4 separate regions of the Homo sapiens genome follow, and regions 1, 2 and 4 are each linked to region 3. The links are contacts of gene promoters, found by promoter capture Hi-C in blood cells and fetal thymus (Javierre and others, 2016). All regions are on one chromosome and are shown on one strand. Each heading gives the region's core, a stretch centred on a gene start or on the middle of the fragment in contact. The rest is flanking DNA. Distances are from core to core; before and after follow the strand shown. Region 1 overlaps PAX3 (paired box 3). Region 2 overlaps CT75 (cancer/testis associated transcript 75). Region 3 holds the start of FARSB (phenylalanyl-tRNA synthetase subunit beta). Region 4 has its middle 29 kb from the start of ACSL3-AS1.

Evidence for each region. The method cuts DNA at HindIII sites, captures the fragments that hold promoters and counts their contacts. A CHiCAGO score of 5 or more calls a contact.
Region 1: a fragment that was not itself captured here is called in contact with the fragment with the promoter of FARSB in region 3 in 2 of 17 cell types (megakaryocytes and monocytes); the score reaches 5.7 in megakaryocytes.
Region 2: a fragment that was not itself captured here is called in contact with the fragment with the promoter of FARSB in region 3 in 1 of 17 cell types (activated CD4 T cells); the score reaches 5.1 in activated CD4 T cells.
Region 4: a contact is called between a fragment that was not itself captured here and the fragment with the promoter of FARSB in region 3, in 2 of 17 cell types (fetal thymus and monocytes). The highest score is 6.2, in fetal thymus.

What each region holds. Positions count from the first base shown.
Region 1 is chr2:222,288,493-222,293,809 of GRCh38, forward strand. The region is part of intron 4 of PAX3 (paired box 3); the gene reads right to left. Among named protein-coding and RNA genes, the nearest start is that of CCDC140, 7.0 kb to the right of the region's middle. RefSeq lists enhancers at 1,366-2,279, 2,280-3,193, 5,256-5,317. The HindIII fragment of the contact is 703 bases long and covers 1,834-2,536 here.
Region 2 is chr2:222,329,090-222,333,828 of GRCh38, forward strand. All of the region lies in intron 1 of CT75 (cancer/testis associated transcript 75), which reads left to right. Among named protein-coding and RNA genes, the nearest start is that of RNF228, 11 kb to the left of the region's middle. The HindIII fragment of the contact is 916 bases long and covers 2,471-3,386 here.
Region 3 is chr2:222,654,150-222,659,109 of GRCh38, forward strand. It overlaps FARSB (phenylalanyl-tRNA synthetase subunit beta), which reads right to left and starts at 1,943. Exons shown (of 17, transcript NM_005687.5): 1 at 1,867-1,943. The coding sequence starts at 1,924. It overlaps LOC124907985 (a long non-coding RNA gene), which reads left to right and starts at 2,284. Exons shown (of 2, transcript XR_007088095.1): 1 at 2,284-2,362. RefSeq lists an enhancer at 2,004-2,053 and a silencer at 2,170-2,366. The HindIII fragment of the contact is 12,443 bases long and covers 1-4,960 here.
Region 4 is chr2:222,946,394-222,951,677 of GRCh38, forward strand. It overlaps the pseudogene LOC100419511. Among named protein-coding and RNA genes, the nearest start is that of ACSL3-AS1, 29 kb to the left of the region's middle. The HindIII fragment of the contact is 1,135 bases long and covers 1,830-2,964 here.

The DNA of each region.
Region 1 (5,317 bases), core at 935-3,434, 370 kb before region 3:
ACACTCAGATTCCTGTGTATTTAATTATTCCCTACCTACTTTTACATAAAAATCTGCTATGTTTTCATTAAATAATTCCAGCTTGGAAGACAATTTTAGGGAAACTTTTGTATTTAGAAACTTAGCAACAGGCAGATAGTAGCTGCCATGCTTTCTGCCACACCCCCCCAAAATGAGAATCTATTTGATGATAAATTCACCATCATAGCCTCAGTTCTAAGTAAGAAATCACGATAGGATAATTAAAAACACCCCATGAGTCTTCTCTACAAACCTACAACATGTAACTGGTTTCAGTTCCTATTTCTTAAAGAGAATTTGGTCAATTCCTCCTTAGAGATTTCAGAGGAAAAGAAGGATTTTCCAGGACAGATAAATTGAAATGATCCCGCTTTGATCTCTATGGTTAAGAACCCCTCACAATGGAAGATGACCACTGAGGGGCCGCGCTCCCGGCCTTTTAATGTGTAACAATGGTATCAACAAACAGCTACTTAATCAATATTTGGCCAGAGCTGCTGAAAACTTCCTTTTCAGATTTTAATTCCTACTTGTAAAACAACCCCAGAGCAGCCAGTGAGATAAGACATTAAACTGACTGCTTAATTGCCTTTTAGTGTCTTGTTAGTTATATATGTACATTCTAAATGGTTCTTTAATCTTTATTTACCCTCATAGATAAGTTACCTGTCATACAGAATCCAATCGAACGTAAAACATTTTCTGTTCCAGCCCAAGCCAAACTCTCATTTCTCACCGTTTGTTTGTTGTTACTGTTGCAGCTTTTCATTTTCATTGGCCATCTACTTATGTACAACTTAAACATTTAGTCTCATAGGAAGAATTTTTTGTTGTTGTTCTCAAAATATATGCATTCATGGATGCTGAAGCCATTCGGATTTAGCGGCCACACTCCTATTCACGTGATCGATTTCTGCATATTCCACTCGCCTGAACCGCCGCGCGCTGACTGGTTCCGCCTCACCGCCCGGGTGGGTTTTATTGCTCAGCCCTGGGGACTTTTAAATGACCCTTCAGTAATTATTACTCAGTAGAAGCCCCTACGTCCTGGTTCCGGTGCTATCAACAATCAAATCAAACCCCAAAATAAACATACGATTTCAAGCATTAATTAGAAAATCTGCATGTTTTCAATAAAGCTCTAGAAGGTAAGCACACAGCAGTCAACCAAACCAAACAAGCGAAAAAGAAAAAGCTAGGAGCTGAACTCTGGTGTTTCCTTTCAAATCGTTCCAGCAGGAAAATTGTTACCGCGACATTAATAAATAGAACACGGCGTGGTGTTCTAATAGAATTCAAGTTCTGATACTTCCAATATTTTTTAAATGGATGATATTTCTTTGCTGAGTTTTGCAAGGACTTCAGAAAATATGAAGTTTTCTCTATAGAATCGAAACGACATTGAAGTCAAATTCGTGATCCTAACAAATGGACTTGGAAAGTGGGCTGGTCTGTCCACTTGAATAAAGGATCCGATGCCATAAACCTATGATCTTATACCCAATGATTTTAATCTATGGGAAAGTTCGTCCCCCGCCTTCCCCTCCTCCCAACCTTGGACCAAAATGGCCCTTCCTGCTCACTAACCGGGAAAGAAACGGCCCTTCGTTTTCCTTGATTTCAGCAGTCCCTTAATGATAAGAGTGCTCTTTTCATGATTTCACTGGAAATAAAATACTCCAAATACCTTTAATGCTTTTCTGCGTTTTAAACTGATTAATCTTCTCCTACCTCCCCCCCAAAAAGCTGAAGTCGTCCTCGTTAACTTTACAAAAGCTGACAAGCTTACAAATAAAATGGAAACTTGAGCAAAGCTTTCGTCACTTTTACTTTCTCCAATTTTTTAAGAAAGCACTCTTTTTTGTAAACGTCAAATAAGAGGGAACAGATAGGAAAGGAATATAAGCCCCCAACAGACCTATGCTTGAGATCTCTTAGTGGGATCTTTTAAATTGTTGCAAACCTCCCACGCTCACTTGTGATTTTAAAAGGGAGGAAAGTCTTATGAGAGTGTATCGCCAGTCCCCAATCAAAACATCAATTTGGCAATCTGGCCTCTCTCCCCCTGCGCTCCGGAGCTGCCACTTCAAAGCTGCTACAACAAGTCAGTAATTGTAACTTTGCATCTAAATATTTAAGCGAGAGTCTTGCAGTCGCGTGTCCATTTACAGTCCTCAACTGTCCTCTAATTCCATTACTGCACAAAGCAAAAATGTTTCCCAAAACTCACAAACAGGAAAAGCGTCACCCTGCTGGAGGGGGAGAAGGAGGGGTGGAGGAGGAGGAGGAGATGATGAAGGGGCAGTTTCTATTGATTAGTCACCGCTTTTGTGTTAAGGGCTTTCTTTAAAATAAGAAAAAAATGGGGGGAGGTTGCAGAAATTTCACTAATGTGAGCCTCAGGCAAGGGAGGAAAAAAAAAAAGAGGAGAAGAAGGGGGGAGGCGGGCTGTGTCTAGATGAAAGTGAGAAGGACATAAAGGAGGCAATTGAGTCGGCTGCAGCCCGGCGAGCTAAGCTTCGAGCCGGCCAGAGAGTAGGGGAGGGGGCGGAGCGGCGCGGCGCTTTGGCGCAGAGCACAGGAGTGGGGGCCCAGCCCATTGTGGCGGCGCCCGCGGGCCCGCTAGGCCGAGCCGGGGGAGGAACAGAGGCGCCCATTGAGCGGCCGCTGCGCAGGGCGGTGCCCACAGCCCCGGATGCCTCGGCCAGGACTTGGCTCCCCCGGCTGCCTCTGCTCCAGTCTCAGCGCGGGCCAGGGGCTAGGGGGATTGGGGATAGCGGGCGGGGTTCGTGTTAGTGAACCGCCCAGCCCTCTCCTTTCTCCTGGGCTATGGAGCTGGAGGGATGTATCCAGCAAGGGTGCATCATGCTTAGCGCGCGCCCGTTAGGGAGCGCGGGCCTGAGCGCACCAGCACCGCTAGCGGCTCAGCTCTTGAATTGAGCGAGGGAAAAGGGAAAGTTGGGAAAGTTAAGAGGACCATCTGGGAGAAAGCCACTGGAGAGAAGAATGAGGTGATTCTGACCTCATTCAAAGTGGCTCAACCCTTTTGTCCTAGTGTCTGCCAAGCAGACCTCAGGCCAAAGATTCCCCTGAAAAGCCAGGCTCAGCAGCACCCACCAGACCCACTAACTGGAAAAGGGCAAGAATACACCACACTGGTCAGGGGACCCCAAAGTTCCTCCTCCCTCAGCTTTCTTCTCCCCCTCTGCCAGGGCGCTAAGAACGCTTTATCAACATTCATTCTATTTTACAAGCGGGCAGCCTGGGATTTTTGATGCCCGAACAACAGAAAGGAGTTTTTGAAGTTTCTAGACTTCAAACTGCACCTCACTCTGTCCTTTCTCTGGGCCCCTCTTGTCCTCCGAGGCTCATCTAAAAAGGAGCTAGAGATGCTGAAGAGACAGACACTGCATCTTCCTTGACAACCCCAAATTAAATCAGGCTTCAGCCTCCAAGGTGTGTGTGTGTGTGTGTGTGTGTGTGTGTGTGTGTGTGTGTGTGTGTGTGTTTCCAACAGCACAGCCCCCACTGGGGAGAATACTCTGATTTTAAAAATGTAGCAATTGCCCTTGAATAGCAGCCGGCCCAGCTAGACAGCCCAAAAGACTAGAAACATTTTGTAGGTGAAATGGCCACTTTTTCCACGCTGAAGAGTCCATAAAACTTCCCGGCGCAGCAGCTATTGGGGCTCATTGAATAATTCATCCCTCATTGCAAGCCCATAATGTCTATTCTCAGCCTTTTGTGGTGCTGTTTTCTCTTCTTTTCTCCTTGAATTATAAAAAGGTTGCCTTCCTTTGTTCACATCAAGCTGCTCCGAGCTGGAGCTTTGTCTGGGCTGAGCTAAAGTGTGAGTTTCAATGGACTCTCCAGGCTTTGTCTCCCAAGTTCATCTCCAAGTGTAGATTGTGTAGAGAAGGACTTCTTTGTAAAAGCTGGAAAAGTTGTACAAATGTTTGACCAGCTCATTTGGGACGTTTTGTCTCCTGGGCCTCAGTCGCCTGTACTGCGAGAGAGCAGCCAGTCTGCCAGCGCCGGAGCCTCCAGCAACAAGTAGCAAAGCCGTGAGTCCCCAGCCTCTGTGACTGCTCTGGGCTCTTCTCCCCACTGCCCACAGGAGCACATTTGGTTTGGGGTTGTCTGACTCCCTGCCTTCCTCCCTTCTCAGCACCTCTATTCTGCAGCTAGGCCTGGGATAAAAGCCAAGGTGTCTTCTCAGAGACCAAGGCAGAAAAATGCACCTCTCCAAAAAGAGGATTTAGGCTGAGTCCATAGGAGGCCTCTGTCATAAAGCAAAGGAAGCATCTCCCTGCCCAACCTGCTGTGGTTTGACATGTCTTTGATTTCTTGTGTGCATCAGAGTATCTACACTTGTTTTTCCCTCAAATCAGCCATTTGGATCTGTAACTTCCAAATCTAAATGTTCCTTCCAGGTTGTGTGCAGATTTTGCATTGCTTTGTAAAGCAGCTGCTCAGGAGAGCCACTGGCTGCCACAGAGTTGGGCAATGAAGATAAAAGAAGTCCCACTTGGATGCCACTCTGGTAAGGGCTCGGACCCAGCTAGTCACAGTCGGCAACGGCTGTGAGCCCACCTGGAAAGCCGCCTGTCCCTCTGGCAACTCCAAAACTAACTTTGCCCAATGAACTCCAAGTCCCAGGTGAGGAAACTTCAGGCATGAGTGGGACCCCTGGCCACTCTTGACCATTTGTGCATTTGAAGAGGGGCAACCACCCCCAAGGCCAAAGCCACTGAGACACAATCCTCCCCTCCCCCCTGCCGTCTCCTGCTGCAATGATCCTTTCCTGGTTCAGCATTTCTTTTCCTTTCTTTCTTTCTTTTTGCGTTTGTACCCTTAAAGTTTGAGGATGGCTTGCGGCAGGTGAAGGGGAAGCAAGCTGCACTTCTGTCTCCCATGGGGGAGATTTTTTTTCTTAGTGCCGACAGTGCACAGCCGAAAAGGAATGGGGATCTGTACCCCTAGAAGACAGAGGGTGCCAGCACTCTAAGAACCCAGATCCCTTCAATTTGTAACCCAGAGCTTGGGTTCCTTTCAATTCCCAGGCACACACAGGTTAAACCCCCTCACATTTGAAAATCAACTTCAAACAAATCAAACCAGTCAACACACAGACATATTTATAAGGCAGCCAATGTGGGGGCAATTTTGGAGGGCCGTTGCCCAAAAGAGTACTCTCTCTCTCTCTCCTTTAATGCGAGGAAACTCCGGAGACCAGGGCCTTTCCTGAGGGCATAAAAGCTACTTCAACTTCTGAAGATTCAAGTACCCTCTATCC
Region 2 (4,739 bases), core at 1,679-4,178, 320 kb before region 3:
TATCATCTTTGGAGAAATGTCTGTTCAATGCCTTGGCCCATTTTCTAATTAGGTTATTAAATTTTTTTGTCATTGAGTCATTGTAGAAATTCCTGACATATTCTGGATATTAACCCCCATAAATATATGATTTGCAAATACTTTCTCCCATCCCATAGGTTGCCTTTTCATTATGTTGATTGTGTCCTTCAACGTGGAGAAGTTTTTAGGTTTGATGCAGTCCCATTTGTCTATTTTGCTTTTGTTGCCAGTGCTTTTGGTATTGTATCCAAGAAATCATTGCCAAGTCTAGTGTCATGAAGCTTCACTTATATATTTTCTTCTATGAGTTGTATAATTTTAGGTCTTACTTTTAGGTCTTTAATTCATTTTGATTTAATTTTTGTATATGGTATAAAATAAAAGTCAGCTTCATCCTTTTGCACATGTATATCCAGTTTTCTCAGTACCATTTCTCCACTTCTCTGTCCTTTCCCCCTTGAGTGACCTTGGCACCCCTGTCAAAGATCATTTGATTATACACATGGGTTTATTTCCGGGCTCTCTATTTTTTTTTTTTTTTTTTTTTTTTTGATACAAAGTCTCACTCTGTCACCCAGGCTGCAGTGTGCTGGCGCAATCTTGGCTCACTGTAACCTCCACCTCCTGGGTTCAAGCAATTCTCCTGCTTCAGCCTCCTGAGTAGCTAGGATTACAGGTGTGTGCCACCACACCTGGCTAATTTTTGTATTTTTAGTAGAGATGGGGTTTCACCATGTTGGCCATGCTGCTCTGGAACTCCTGACCTCAGGTGATCCGCCCTTCTCAGCCTCCCAAAGTGCTGAGATTACAGGCGTGAGCCACTATGCCCAGCTGGGGCTCTCTATTTTATTTCGTTGGTCTATTTGTCTGTGCTTGTGACAGTGCCACATTGTTTTGATTTCTGTAGCTCTGTAATATGTTTTGAAATCAGGAAGTGTGAATGCTCCAACTTTGTTCTTCTTTTCCAAATTTGTTTTGGCTATTCAGGGCCCCTTGAGATTCCACATGAATCTTAGAATGAATTTTTCTACATTTGCAAAAAAAGTATTGGAATTCTGATAGGGGTTGCATTGATAGTCACTGTTCTTTGATAAATCCAGTGAAGAATCTTAAAAACATAGTGAAAACTACTGAGACCACAGGAAAAATTTCAATAGCTAGAAGCTTGTATAATTTTTCTCAATCTCTTTGTAAAACAAAACTATTACAGCAGAAAATTATGCAAGCAAACATGTTTGTCTTAGTGCATCTTCTTTTCAGATCTATACATACAGTTTAAATGACACCTATTAGAAAAGAATGAGAGAAACAATTGATTCCTTTGAACATGGTAGTCTTAATAATAATAATAATAGTTATTATCAAAGTACCATATAATTTTTTGGTTTTTATGTTAAAGCATTTAAATTCCATTGTCTCATTTCATTATAGTCTGAAGCAGAATTTCCTGAAATTATGGTCTCTAAAATATTAGTTCCTCAAAAAAAAGTTTTTGTCATCAAATAATTTGGGAAGTATTCCAAACTACATTCTATATTTTCTACTCATTAAAGGCTCTGAGAAGTACTGTTACAAAGATGTAAAGAAATCAGTTCGATGTGGTATAAACAAGTGTTTATCAAATTTTTACAGCCTCAAAATTTTTCTTTTTGTAAACCTGTATCTAAGGTATGACTAAAAGCCTTAAGAGAAGAGAATTTTAAAGAAACAGATTCAGATGCTGCATTATAAATATTGAGTGGTGCAGGAGAGAAAGTGCATAAGACAAAGGGGCACATCTACCAACATAGGAATCGACTTCTCCCTTTATACCTATAAAGGGCTAAAGCTGGGAGTGAGATTCGACATGTATGGAGAACCGGATGTGTTAACAATAAAGAAACAGGCTAATTTCTTCCATATGCCATTCGCATCATCTATTTGAAGCCATGTACCATCCTACGTGCAGCAGTACCTTTGCTGAAAAGAAACAAACAGATTCTAAGGGTATATTGAGCCAAGATAGACTGCCTCTGTTAGATGGTATCTGCTTAATTGACTCTTCACATGATGATGTTTTTGTAATATTTCCCATAGATGGAAATAAGAGACAAATCACCTTTCATCTAGCATGGTTAATCATAATTGGTTGTTTATGTATTTTTGTCTCTGACCATGATACATCCTCCCTCTTAATTTCTTTTGTATTTTAAAAAATGTCTTCTTCCAAAACATTATAAGAATTCAAAAACCTTTAAACAATGTATTATTTATCTTTCTGGCCACACAGATTCCTTCAGAGTCATTACAATCCATCAACTGTGCATTTGCTGACTTAATAATAAGCAGATTTGGTTTTCAGGAGACTGAGGCAGTTGTAAAGCGCAGATCCATTAGGTTCTTTCCCATCCACTATTAGAGTATGTGGGTGAGGTACTCACTTCAAGCAGGGGCAAGCCCATGGACCTGAAGCTTATACCATTTTGGAGGTCCTTTTTAAGAAAAATAATTAAAACTGCTTGGTAAGAAGTTAAGTATTCATTTAGAATTATAAAATAAACCACTGCCACAACAAAACATTTAAAGTTGATAAATTCAGGAACGATCTCAAAATCCAGAAAAAAATTTTTTTCAACTAATTAGCTATCTGACATACCCCTCAATAAAATTATTTGTCTGCATACTATTTGATTGTCTATTCATGCCACAAGAATTTTGTCATACTTTCTGGGAGAGACTAGAAGAAGAAATCAGTATTTCTTCTAGCATGGTGGATCAAACAACATATTTTTAAAAAATTAATAGTATGGAAAGGTTCCTTTTGGCTTCACAATTTGTTGGTATTGGCGCGTACATTTTTAGGATTATTATTAATTTTGGAAACACTTCTCTCAAGTGAATTTCATATATGGGCTGTAAAATTTCAAGGCATTTTAGGGATTTGTTTGTTGCAGGGAGTAATTTTAAGTACTCTGAATTGACGACACTCACTGACCAGCTTATCTTTGGTGTCCCTAATAATGTGGCATATTATGAGGGTTATATGGGGCCCTTCACCTTCCTTTTATAAAGTTAGATGCACAGATATAGGGAGTGGTAAGATTAGGACTGAAAATTGTTTTCTGCACTGGGACAGCTAACCTCTACACGGAAGAATCTGTGAACTGCATAAATATTTCACTAAACCAAAACCAAAGATCAACTTCCTTAAACACGGTCCAAAAATGCCCGTGGCTTCTTCGATGCTACCTAACCCTAACAAGGGGAAGTTGAAGTGGAAAGAAACAATGGTCTTAAAGATTTGCAGTTAAAATATATTCCTGTGAATTTTATGAGAACATATGGACATGGGAACACTTCAAGTTCAAATAAGGGGTCTTGAAACAAGCTTCATTGGTTTCATGGTAAACCCACTTCTGGTTTAAACTCAAATTTTCTTCACCAGAGTTGCTATTGTTACTTTTAAAAGAATGCACATTTGTCTATTGAACTAAAGGGACAGAGTATATAGAAACTATTCAAATACATGAAAGACAGATACATGACTGTATCCCAGCTGGCCAGATTATTAATCTAATCAACCAAGGAGGGGCCTCAAAATGGCTGACCAGAGGCATCCGGAGCTGCCTTCTCCACAAAGAACCAAGATAGTGACTGCATAATCACACTTCAAATAGATCACCGAGAGAGAGAGAGAGAGAGAGAGAGAGAGAGAGAGAGAGAGAGAGACAGAGAGAGAGAGACAGAGAGAGAGAGAGAGAGAGAGAGAGAGAATGCTGGAATTTAAGAGAGAAGTGACAGGAAACATGTAAGACAAGGAAGGAGGGGGAAGGGAGGCAGCCTGCTCAGCAGGCATCTGCTGGGAGCCTAGAGAAGTTCTCCAATGTGGGAAAAGGGTGAATGAGAAACCCCCGGCAGGTCCACCTTCTTACCATGGACTCCTGAAATCCTAGCCCGGACCCTGAGCCATTCAACTCAAGCAGCCCCTGAGACTAACATAGGGAGCTGCCTGGAGACTTCCCACAGTATTCATTCTGAGAGGAAGCTCACACAGGGTCCTAGACAGCTCCTAAATCCTAAGCAGCTACAGGAAGGCACCATTTTGAGAACACAGCCCCTATCATACTGTATTCTGCTGGAGGGCCCAATAGCCCCTGTATCTTCACATCCCTGGAGCCCCATTGACATTCTCCACCTTTATTCACCACCGCAGCTGGCTCTGCTGCCAAGGCCAAAATGCAAGCCATTGTCAGTAACCCAGCTGCCTCCAGTAGCAGGGCCACTGTGCATTTAAAGGCATCCCAAAAAAAGGCTATCTCACTTATAGCAGCCACCTGAGGCCAAAATGTGTGCTCCCCAGCCACCTTACTGTTGCCACTGAAAGCAACCCTGCCCTCCCTAGCAGCAGGGTCCTGGCACAGCTGCTGCTGCTCCCACCCAGGCATTCTGCCAATGGCCTGGGATCACTACATTCCGGCCTACCACAGCCAGCACCTACATGTACCACCAAGAGGGCCTGAAGATAGGCCCACCTGACCCGGCTCCATCCCCCTTCCCCTAGTGCCTGAGCATGATGTCTGGGTGCTTTGGGATTGCCCAACTTCATCTACCATTATTGGCACCTAAGCACCCCTCCCAGGGGCCTGAGGACAGCCCCACCAACCTGCCACTACCACCACAGCTGCCACCCACTTGTATGCCCCAGCTGCAGGCCTAGGGACAAGCCCACCCTGCCCAAC
Region 3 (4,960 bases), core at 693-3,192:
ACCTACCATCTTAGGCAATTCAGGTATACAGACTGAGCATTCCCAATCCAAAAATCTGAAATCTGACATGCTCCAAAACCCAAAACCTTAAAGTGCAGACATGATGTCACAAGTGGAAAATTCCACACCTGACTCCATGTGACTTGTCAAAAACACAGTCAAAACCTTGTTTCATGCAAAAAAAAATTATTTAAAGTATTCCATAAAATTAACTTCAGGCTATGCATATAAGGTATATGTGAAATATAAATCAATTTCATGTTTAGACTTGGTCCCACCCCCAAAATATCTCATTATGTATATGCAAATATCCCAAAATCCAAAATCCAAGACGCTTCTGGTCTCAAGCATTTTGGATAAGGAATTATTAACCTGTACCACATCCCATTAGTGAGAATATGGTTTAGAAGGGCAGGTAAGAAATATAAATAAGCTCATTATAAAATAAAGCGATTAGGCGATTAGAGCCAAGTACAAAGGGTAAGAGTAATACAATACCCTTGTATTTCCTTTACTTTCAGGGACTTATGGCAGAACTTACGAAGAATATCACATAGAGAATAGGTACTATCTAAAAGTACACACTTAGGAAAGATTCTTAAAAGCCAGCTTTATTTTCACTGTAACAGTAATCTTATTCTGGGAAGCGGTGGCTGTCATTAAACCAATTAGGCCTTTGTTAACACACTGAGCCCTAAAAACAAAAAAAACAGCTCTCACGAACCAGTTGGTCCAGCCTTTATACAAGCTAAAAATTATGGGGTGGGGGCCGGGCGCGGTGGCTCACGCCTGTAATCCCAGCATTTTGGGAGGCCGCGGCAGGTGGATCACGAGGTCAGGAGTTTAAGACCAGCCTGGCCAAGATGGTGAAACCTGGTCTCTCTAAAAATACAAAAAAATTACTCGGGCGCGATGGCGGACGCCTGTAATCCCAGCTACTCGGGAGGCTGAGGCAGAAAATTGCTTGAACAGGGAGACGGAGGTTGCTGTCAGCCGAGATCGCGCCACTGCACTCCAGCCTGGGAGTGCAGACTCCGTCTCAAAAAATAAAAATAAAAAAAAAAATAGGGTGGGGCAGCTGCTACGGCTGTGAGGTAACTGATAACTGCATTTAATATCTCCCTCCTTTTTTTCAATGGTTGTGTTTTTAGAACTGATTAAAAGATGAAATGTAGAATGAAGTCTACACCCATTTAATACTCCCCATTCAGGTCTCAGATCAAATGTTACCACCCTATCTAAAGTTGTTCTTGGCACAACACCTTTTCTTTCCTTGATGGCATTTAACATTATCCGAAATCATTTTATTAACGTGCTGGTTAATTGTCTGCCTCCATCAGACAGAACGTGGACCTGACGTGTCGTGTGCACAGCTCTAGTCCTAAGCTCTTAGAACAGTGCCTGACACATAACAGGCGCTCAGGAAACATTAATAAAACGAAGACAGGTGGAATGCCGTTCTCCACCCCGCTGCACAAATCTCTCCTCCTACCCCCTTATAAACTGAGTTCCCACAGCGCTGCTATTGCAATTAACTGGCTACGCTCGGGATGCAACCCCGGGTTTCCTTCCTGTTCTATCCCCTGGCTTGGATGTCGGTGCCAGGCACGCTGTAGGCACTCGATGGCAGATCGCTGAATGAATGACACGGCAAGCCGGGCACAAGCAGTGGCACCGCTGCGATGCCGGTTCCGAGGCTACCACAGCCCAGCCGGACCGCCACCATCATCGGCCTTCCCGCGTAAACCCCGGCCTCCCGGAGCCAAAACCTTCAGGAAGGCATGAATGTCGCCACATTGCCCTTTTGGAGGGAGGCCCTGCCTCCGAGAAGAGGCGTAGGGCCCAACGTATAGGGCCGCCACTCACTGTAGGTGCGGCCCAGGGCTTGGAAGAGCAGATCACGCTTCACGCTGACAGTCGGCATGGTGTGTCGAACTCACTGCGCCTGCGCAGCGAGCTGACCCGGGCTTCCCTAGCGAAGCGCGTAGGACCCGCCTCTTCTTGTGCGTGTTGTCTTGAATATCGCCATTCTGCTGGCAACAGTTCCTGTTCTCTTTTTAACCTAAAAACACTCATCATGCCATTACCTCGCTGATTAAATGTATCTTTATGAGACTAATAGCTTAAAAGCCTGTAAGAAAGATATAATTTGATAGAACTGGCTAGGATTTGTCAGGCATTGTAATGTACTGACCCTGAAGTCCCGGATGCTTCCAGGGCGCTAACGGCCGGGGACGCCCACCAGGTGGGCGGGGCGAGAGTGGGGCGCGTCAGGGAGGGGGTGGGGCCTCCACGTGGGAGATCTTGCCTGGAGGTGGTGGAAATGCGAGTGGAGAGGGTTCAAGGCTTCCTGCAGAGAAAGGTGTGCAAATCCTGGCGGCGGGAGAGGGGCTGTTAACAGACCTCAGTTTTTACTTCATTCTTTAATCTCTCCTCTACTCGTATAAGTGATATACCTGTGCTTTGTTTGAACTTTACGGCAGCCCTATAAGGGAGGCATTGTAAGAGACCTCTTTTTTTGTCTATTTGCTCAGTGCTCTCTGCTGTCAGTGGGCTGTGCTCAGCCCTCTGCCAGCATTAAATTTCCTCCTTAAAACAACCCTGAGTGTAATAGGCTGAATAACGGCCCCCAATAATATCAGACCCTAATCCCTGCAACCTCTAAATGTAACTTTATATGGAAACAGCGTCTTTGCAGGTTAAGTTAAGGATTTTGAGATGAAGATTATCCTGGATTCGAAAGACGAACACTAAATGGAATCACAGTATCCTCATCAAATCATAAAAGGGAGGTTGAGAGAGACGATTTAGCCACGGTGGCAGAGATTGGAGTATGGCAGCCACAACCCAAGGATGCCAGCAGCCACCAGAAACAAAGAGACAAGCACACACTGGGGGTGAGGGGGTGGAGGAGCGGGGAGCATCAAGAATAGCTAATAGATGCTGGGCTTAATACTTAGGTGATGGGATGATCTGGGCAGCAAACCACCATGGCATACATTTACCTATGTAACAAACCTTCACATCCTGCACATGTATCCCTGAAATAAACAGAGACAAGGACAGATTCACGCCCAGCCCATGGGGCAGCCCTATAATGCATGCTGATTTGGGCCCAGTGAAACTGATTTTGGGTTTCTGGCCTCCAGAACTGTGAGAGCATAAATTTATGGTTTAAGTCAGCAAGTTCGTGGTAATTTGTTTCAGCAGCCAAGGGAAACTAATACATCAAGATAGGTACCATTATCCCTGTTTTACAGGTAATGAAACTAAGGCACAAACTGGCAGTTCCAGGGGGAGCCTTGCCCTAATCCTTTCTACTGTACAGTGAGTGAGGGCTTCTTCCAAAGTCCTTCACATGAGGGGAGAAAAGCTGAGCCAGATGTAAGCCACCCTAACTATTAATCAAGCAGTTTTTCACTATACAGTATTAGCTCCCCTCCATGGGAAGGCAGTCCCTTCCCAGTGACCAACATAACAGATTGGCAACACCCCATAAATGGCAAACATCCCCAATGCAAAATACAGCTTTCCACCTAAAATTGGTGCTTTCTGCTCAATTAATAAGCAAAGGACTAGTGCCAGGCATGATGGCTCACACTTGTAATACCAACACTTTGGGAGGCTGAAGTGGGCAGATCACTTGAGGTCAAGAGTTGGAAACCAGCCTGGCCAACATGATAAAACCCCATCTCTACTAAAATTACAAAAATTAGCTGGGTGTGGTGGTGGGCACTTGTAATCCCAGCTACTGGGGAGGCTGAGGACTGAGAATCACTTTAACCCAGGAGGCAGAGGTTGCAGTGAGCCAAGATCACGCCACTGCACTCCAGCCTGGGTGACAGAGCAAGACTCTGTCTTAAAAGCAATAACAACAACAACAACAAAATAGTAATAATAAATAACCAAAGGACTTCCTGCTGACCTGCTCTGCTTTGGGCACTCCAAAGTGTTCTGTGGCCTCTGAACCTCAGTTTCCTCATCCATAAAATAGGGATAATAATATACACCTTAAAGAATTATTGTGTCCCATATCTGTAATTCCAGCACTTTGGGAGGCCGAGGTGGGAGGATTACTTGAGCCCAGGATTTCAAAACCAGCGTGGGCAACAGAGTTGGACCCCATCTCTAAACAAAAAGAAAAATTAGCCAGGCATGGCGGCAACACACCTATGATCCCATCTACGCGGATCACTTGAGCCCGGGAGGTTGAGGCTGTGGTGAGCTGTGATCGCGCCACAGCACTCCAGCCTGGGTGACAAAGTGAGACCTTGTCTTAAAAACTAAAAAAGAATTATTGTAAGAATTTGAAATAATACTCATAAATAACTAGTATAGTTCTTATCATGTCAGAGGTCCTGGAAATGGGGCAACTGTCATTTTTTTTAATCCTCCTAGTTAGTTTTCTGCTAGTCTCAGACCACCAAGGGGCATTTTGTTCCCATCTCTCACATCCCCCAACTGACCTATCCTACTTTTTATCATTGCACATGTTACAGGTACTCTGTCCCTTCTCTGTGAGAAGCTAAACTGTTAGAAGATTCTAATGGAAAAGAGGAAACTAGGCCACTAGGGCTCATCACAAATGGCATTAGCTAACTGAAAGGAAAGGTACATGGAAAATGATGAGATCGTATATCACAAAATGTAGGTACATGCTTCTTTCATCTAACTTTGGGGCCAGACTGAAAGCAGGAATGAGGTGGCAGCATTTCCTAGGAAGGAAAGACGAGCTGGACAAAAGGCATGGAAAAACTCTCAGCTCAGCAGAAATTAAGGAGATGCAAATAAAAATTATAAGGACATACATGTTTATACCTAGGAGACTGCTAGAAGTCTTAAAGTCTGAAAAAAATCAGATCTTGGCAAGAATTTGGGAGTATAAATTGATATAACCTCTTTGGAAAATATGGCCTTACCTAGAAAAATGGGGCATGTCCATATCCTACTACCCAGCAAT
Region 4 (5,284 bases), core at 1,147-3,646, 290 kb after region 3:
TCTGGTTTCAGGACCTCTTTATGTTCTGAAATAAATTATTGAGAACTCCAGAATGTTTGTTTATGTGGCTTATATCTATCAGTATTTCTTTGTAAAGGGTTTGTATTTTATCATGAAACATGTAGAAGTAAATCATTCACTTTGATTTTTCTTCATGACCATAATCATATTAAGAATACAAAAGGTATAAGAGAGTGGCACAGGATGAGGGTTTATTAGGAGGGCTGTATGTATGCCTTCCCCACCCCTGACTCCCAAGAAAAAAGATTATAGCTATCAGAAGAACATAGCTTTGCAAGATTTGTTCTGTGATAAAGGCAAAATTCCACATTTTTCCTCAAAATAGAAATGAAAAACAACTATGTTGTCCAAATAATTTGATGCCCCAACTTTCAAAATGTTTATGTATAGAAGCCTATAGCTCCAACGCGCTGCCTAGCCCTGCCACTTTGTCAACCCCATGGCCATATTCTGGGCCCTGTTATCGCTCAGAAGGCCCTTGTCTGGAATCTGGGAAAAGGAGGATGTTGAAGACTTAAAAGTCCTAATGCCTTTAATGGGGGCCTGGAAGGATGGGGCTTCAGGCCTGGCGGGAAAGGAATGGTGTTGTGTGGGAAGGTGCTCACATATAAAACATCCAGCTCTAACAACCCAGCAATGTGCTGTCCTCAAAGCTCCCAACCCCGCTGTGAGTCACCCCATCTGAGGACCTCCATGAGTGGCCAGGGCACAGTCCCTTATTCTGCTAGATGCTCTGCCTGCCCTGTATAATACCTCTCTGCTCAGCCTTAGCACTAACGCCATCCTCACTCCAGTCCTCTCTTGGTTTGAATGTTTTGGATGTCTTGAGAGCATTGGGGCAAGAACTCCGAGAATTTTTTTTCTGTTTTCTTTTTTTTTTTTTTGAGACAGTGTCTCACTCTGTGGCCGAGACTGGAGTACAGTGGTACGATCTCAGCTCACTACAACCTCCATCTCCCGGTTCAAGTGATTCTCCTGCCTCAGCCTCCTGAGTAGCTGGGATTACAGGCACCTGCCACCACACCCAGCTAATGTTATATTTTTAGTAGAGACGGGATTTCACCATGTTAGCTAGGCTGTTCTCGAACTCCGGACCTCAGGTGATCCACCCGCCTTGGCCTCCCAAAGTGCTGGGATTACAGGCGTGAGCCACCGCTCCCGGCCTTAGAATTCTTTTAAACGTTTCCACAAATGTAAGAAAAGATGGCTTTTTGGTAGCCATGGTCAAAAATAGCCACCCAAATCTGTTTTTACCCTGTTCAGCACATCAGCAGTTCACCTCATGTAGGAAAGTGAGATGCACCAGAGGCTTAAAAAAGTTCCTATGGTTTGCCCACTAATTCCACATCTAGGAATCTGACCTTAGAAAATACTCAAGAGACGCGGGTTGAGATTTCTTCAGGAAGACCTTCATTGTGAAGTTGTTTATAGCAATCCATCAATTGGAAACAAGTGCACTAAAGTAAGATATCAGGTAAATATTAGACACTATCCACTTGATCATAGAGGCACAAAAAATGTTTATACAGCTTTTTATATTGTGAGGAGGACTTCATACTATGAATTTTATGGGGGAAGAAAGTAGGAATCAAAATTTAGTAGGCACTTTATGTCATAATGTGTGTGTGTGTGTGTTGTGTATATATTTCATAGAGAAAAGTCTAGAAAGAAATGTGCAATCATTGGCCAAAAATTGTAATTGACATTTTTCTCTTCATACTTTCAAAATTCTTTACATTGGCTTTACTTACTCCTACAATAAAAAGTCAAGCTTGTGTAAAGAAGCCTAGCTTAAAATATGGACCATAAGCTTTAAAATTTTTTATCTTAGCAAAATTATCAATTGTTAAGAAAAAATATTTGAAGCTATCTTAAGTGTTCTAGTAAAGAAGAAACTAGAAACCCTTTTATTTTCTAATCCCATTCATATTTATATATTTTTTGAAAGCTCCCTTCAACTATACCCTTGTTTATCAATCTTGTTCTGTTTGTTCCAGCTTTATAACGTGATATATGGGTATCTGTGCCTGTCTTCTGTATGTGCATTTTTTTTCTGGTAATTCTGCCCATGTTCTGCATATCTTTATTTTCATGTTCTTAATCCTTTTATTTACTGCTTCATGACTCAATTTTAATTTTTCTGTAACTGAATTATGTAGGACCTTGGCCCCTAAATAGCTCTTTTCAAGAAGATTTTCTTCTTGTGTGTCCAATAGATTTGCTATGCCCTTTCTCCTCCTCCTGTTAAATGTAAAACTTTATTAGTATCAATATCTGATATAGTTTGGTTGTGTCCCCACCCAAATCTCATCTTGAATTGTATCTCCTACAATTCCCACATGTTGCGGGAGGGACCTGGTGGGAGATCATTGAATCATGGGGGCAGTTCCCCCATACTGTTATCGTGATAGTGAATAAGTCTCACGAGATCTGATGATTTATAAGGGGTTTCCCCTTTCACTTGGCTCTCATTCTCTCTTGCCTCCCACCATATAAGATGTGCCTTTTGCCTTCCACCATGATTGTGAGGCCTCCCTAGCCATGTGGAACTGAGAGTCCATGAAACTTACTTTTCTTTGTAAATTACCCAGTCTCCAGTATGTCTTTATCAGCAGCGTGAAAATGGACTAATACAATATCATATTGTATATTTTTCTGTAGATCATCCATTTTAAAAAGAGGAGATGATTTGCTAATTTTTAAAAACAGCTCCTATAAGAAAAGGGAAATTCAGAAAGATGCTTTTCTTCTATCTTTTCCCTGAAAGTTGCCCAGTTCTTCTTTGCCTTTTGGTTGTTTTATTGGCTGATTCTAGCTCTGGGTCTGGTGTCAGTGTTGACCTGTGATCCCTCATCAGGGCCAGTGCTGAGACCTGTGGATGATTGCACCAGACGTCCTTTACAGACCAGGCTTGAGTCTCCCTGCTATTGTGATTTTTTTTTAAGCTTATTTGGAATGTTAGACAAACAGGTGTAAAAATACCATATTAGTTTTTGAAAGATTTGCTTATTTAGCATAACATGAATTTATGCTCATTATAAAATTTCTAGTAATTTGGAGATATAGACTAAAAATGGAAATCCTCCCTATATACACAGGGTTTTTAGAAAACATATAATGAATTAAATTTTGTCTCTCCTCCCAAATGTATATGTTGAAGTCCTGATCTCTAGTACCTCAGAATGTCAGTAAATTTGGAGATAGGGCCTTGAATAAGGTGATTAAGTTAATATGAGGTCATTAATGTGGCCCCTAATCCAATATGACTAGAGTCCTTGCACAAGGAGATCAGGACACAGATCTCCACAGAGTGAAGAGTGTGGGATGCCAACCCAAAAAGAGAGGTCTCAAAAGATACCAGCCCTGCTGACACCTTGATCTTGTCCTTCTAGCCAACAGAATTGTGAGAAAGTGAATTTCTGTTGCTCAAACCACCTAGTCTGTGATTTTGTTATGGCAGCCCTAGCACACTAATACAGACCGCAGTTAGATCCTGGTCTAGATTCTATAACTTGCCTTTTTTATTGTGAGCATACATTGGACATCTTCCTGTGTCAGTACATATATAATGGACCTGATTCATAAATAACCTTGTTAACGGCGAGGCAATATTCCACAGAATGGGTGTATCACAATGTAAACCATTCTCTCATTGTTAGGCACTTAGGTTATTTCAGTTTTTACCATTAGAATCAGTGTGACAACACAAAGCTTTTACTCCCATTTTTGTGCTTAAGAGGAAGCTCATCTACAGGACAGCTTTCTAACAGGAATGGCTAGGTAGATCAAACCTTAGCAGTTTTGTAAACTATCCAATTGTTATTTGGTTTTGAGTGTGTGTGTGTGTGTGTGTGTATGTACATATATATCTCCTGACTTCTCAGATAAATTTAAATTCCTGAGGAATGGGTGTTTTAGTGATTCTTTGTATCCTCCAAGTCTAGTGTCATATGACTTTCTTCTAAGAGATTCTGAGTGAATGTTGGGTATACTATCATTTTCATTAATTAGCCTTTTATCATCAATTAGCTAAAATGTGGGAAAGAAGGGGAAACATGGTGTGTAGTGTGACCCAGGCAGGTCCCGTCCCTCTGAGCCTTTGTAGACACTGTGTTAGTTTTCTTTTCTCCCTTTTTTTGCTTTTTGAAATAAGGTCTTGCTTTGTCACCCAGGCTGGAATGCAGTGGTGTGATCATGGCTCAAGCAATCCTCCTGCCTCAGTGTCCCAAGTAGCTGCGACTACAGGAGCGAACTGCCACATCTGGCTTATTTATTAATTAACTAATTAATTAATTTAATTATTTGTAGAGAAAGGGACTCACTATGCTGCCCAGGCTGGTTTCAAACTCCTGGCCTCAAGTGATCTTCCCGCCTCCACCTCCTAAAGTGCTTGGATTACAGGCGTGAGCCACCGCACCCGGCCCTGTGTTAGGTTTTTTTTTGTCATGGGTCTCTTTTTTCCACCTCCTTCCTTCCTCCTTTCCCTCCCTGCTAATAAACAATAATTTCATATGCCTTCTGAGTCATTTGAGAAATTGTTTTGTTCTACCTTCCGGGAATATGCTAATAATGAGTAAAATAAAAATGGGCAGGAATTTGATGTAAAATCCGAAGGCAGATTTGTGTTTGTATATCTCATCTTCTCTCCTCTGCGGCATTTACAGGAAGCAGCAGGGCTGCGTGGGTGATGGATGTTGCTGTCTGTGACCGTCTGCCGCCCATTCCTCTTCTTTGAATCACCAGCCTATGGGCTGTTCACCATGCAGCTGATGTTCACCAGCTCTGTATCTTCCATCTCCCCAAAGTGGCACGGACACAGAGCCTTGCTTATACACAGTGATGGGAATCTGGTGCAGTAGAAAACAAAATTTTCTTATTTTTCTCCCACCCCAAACCCTGGCAATACTGTTTTCACAGGTAGAGATGGTGAAGAACGCAGACTCATAGCAAGACACCCATGATCACCAGTCACCTGTGTGTCTGTGATGTCGAGGCTGACAATTAGATATGATTACAGATATGTGAAAAAAGGACAGTTTTTTTTATTGTAGTACTGGTAACAAGAATTGCTTTTTGAATTTTTTAATTGGGATCTCCTGTTTTTCCCCCCTCCAAGTCCTTCCTGCTTTTTCTTTGCTTTTAAGGATACAGAAAGATGATCACTTTTATTGGAAAAACCTGTTGAGAAGCTATGCTTGCGAGACATTAGCAATCCTCATGCTTGTGAGTTCCGGAACATTATACAGGCTGGGCATGGTGGCTC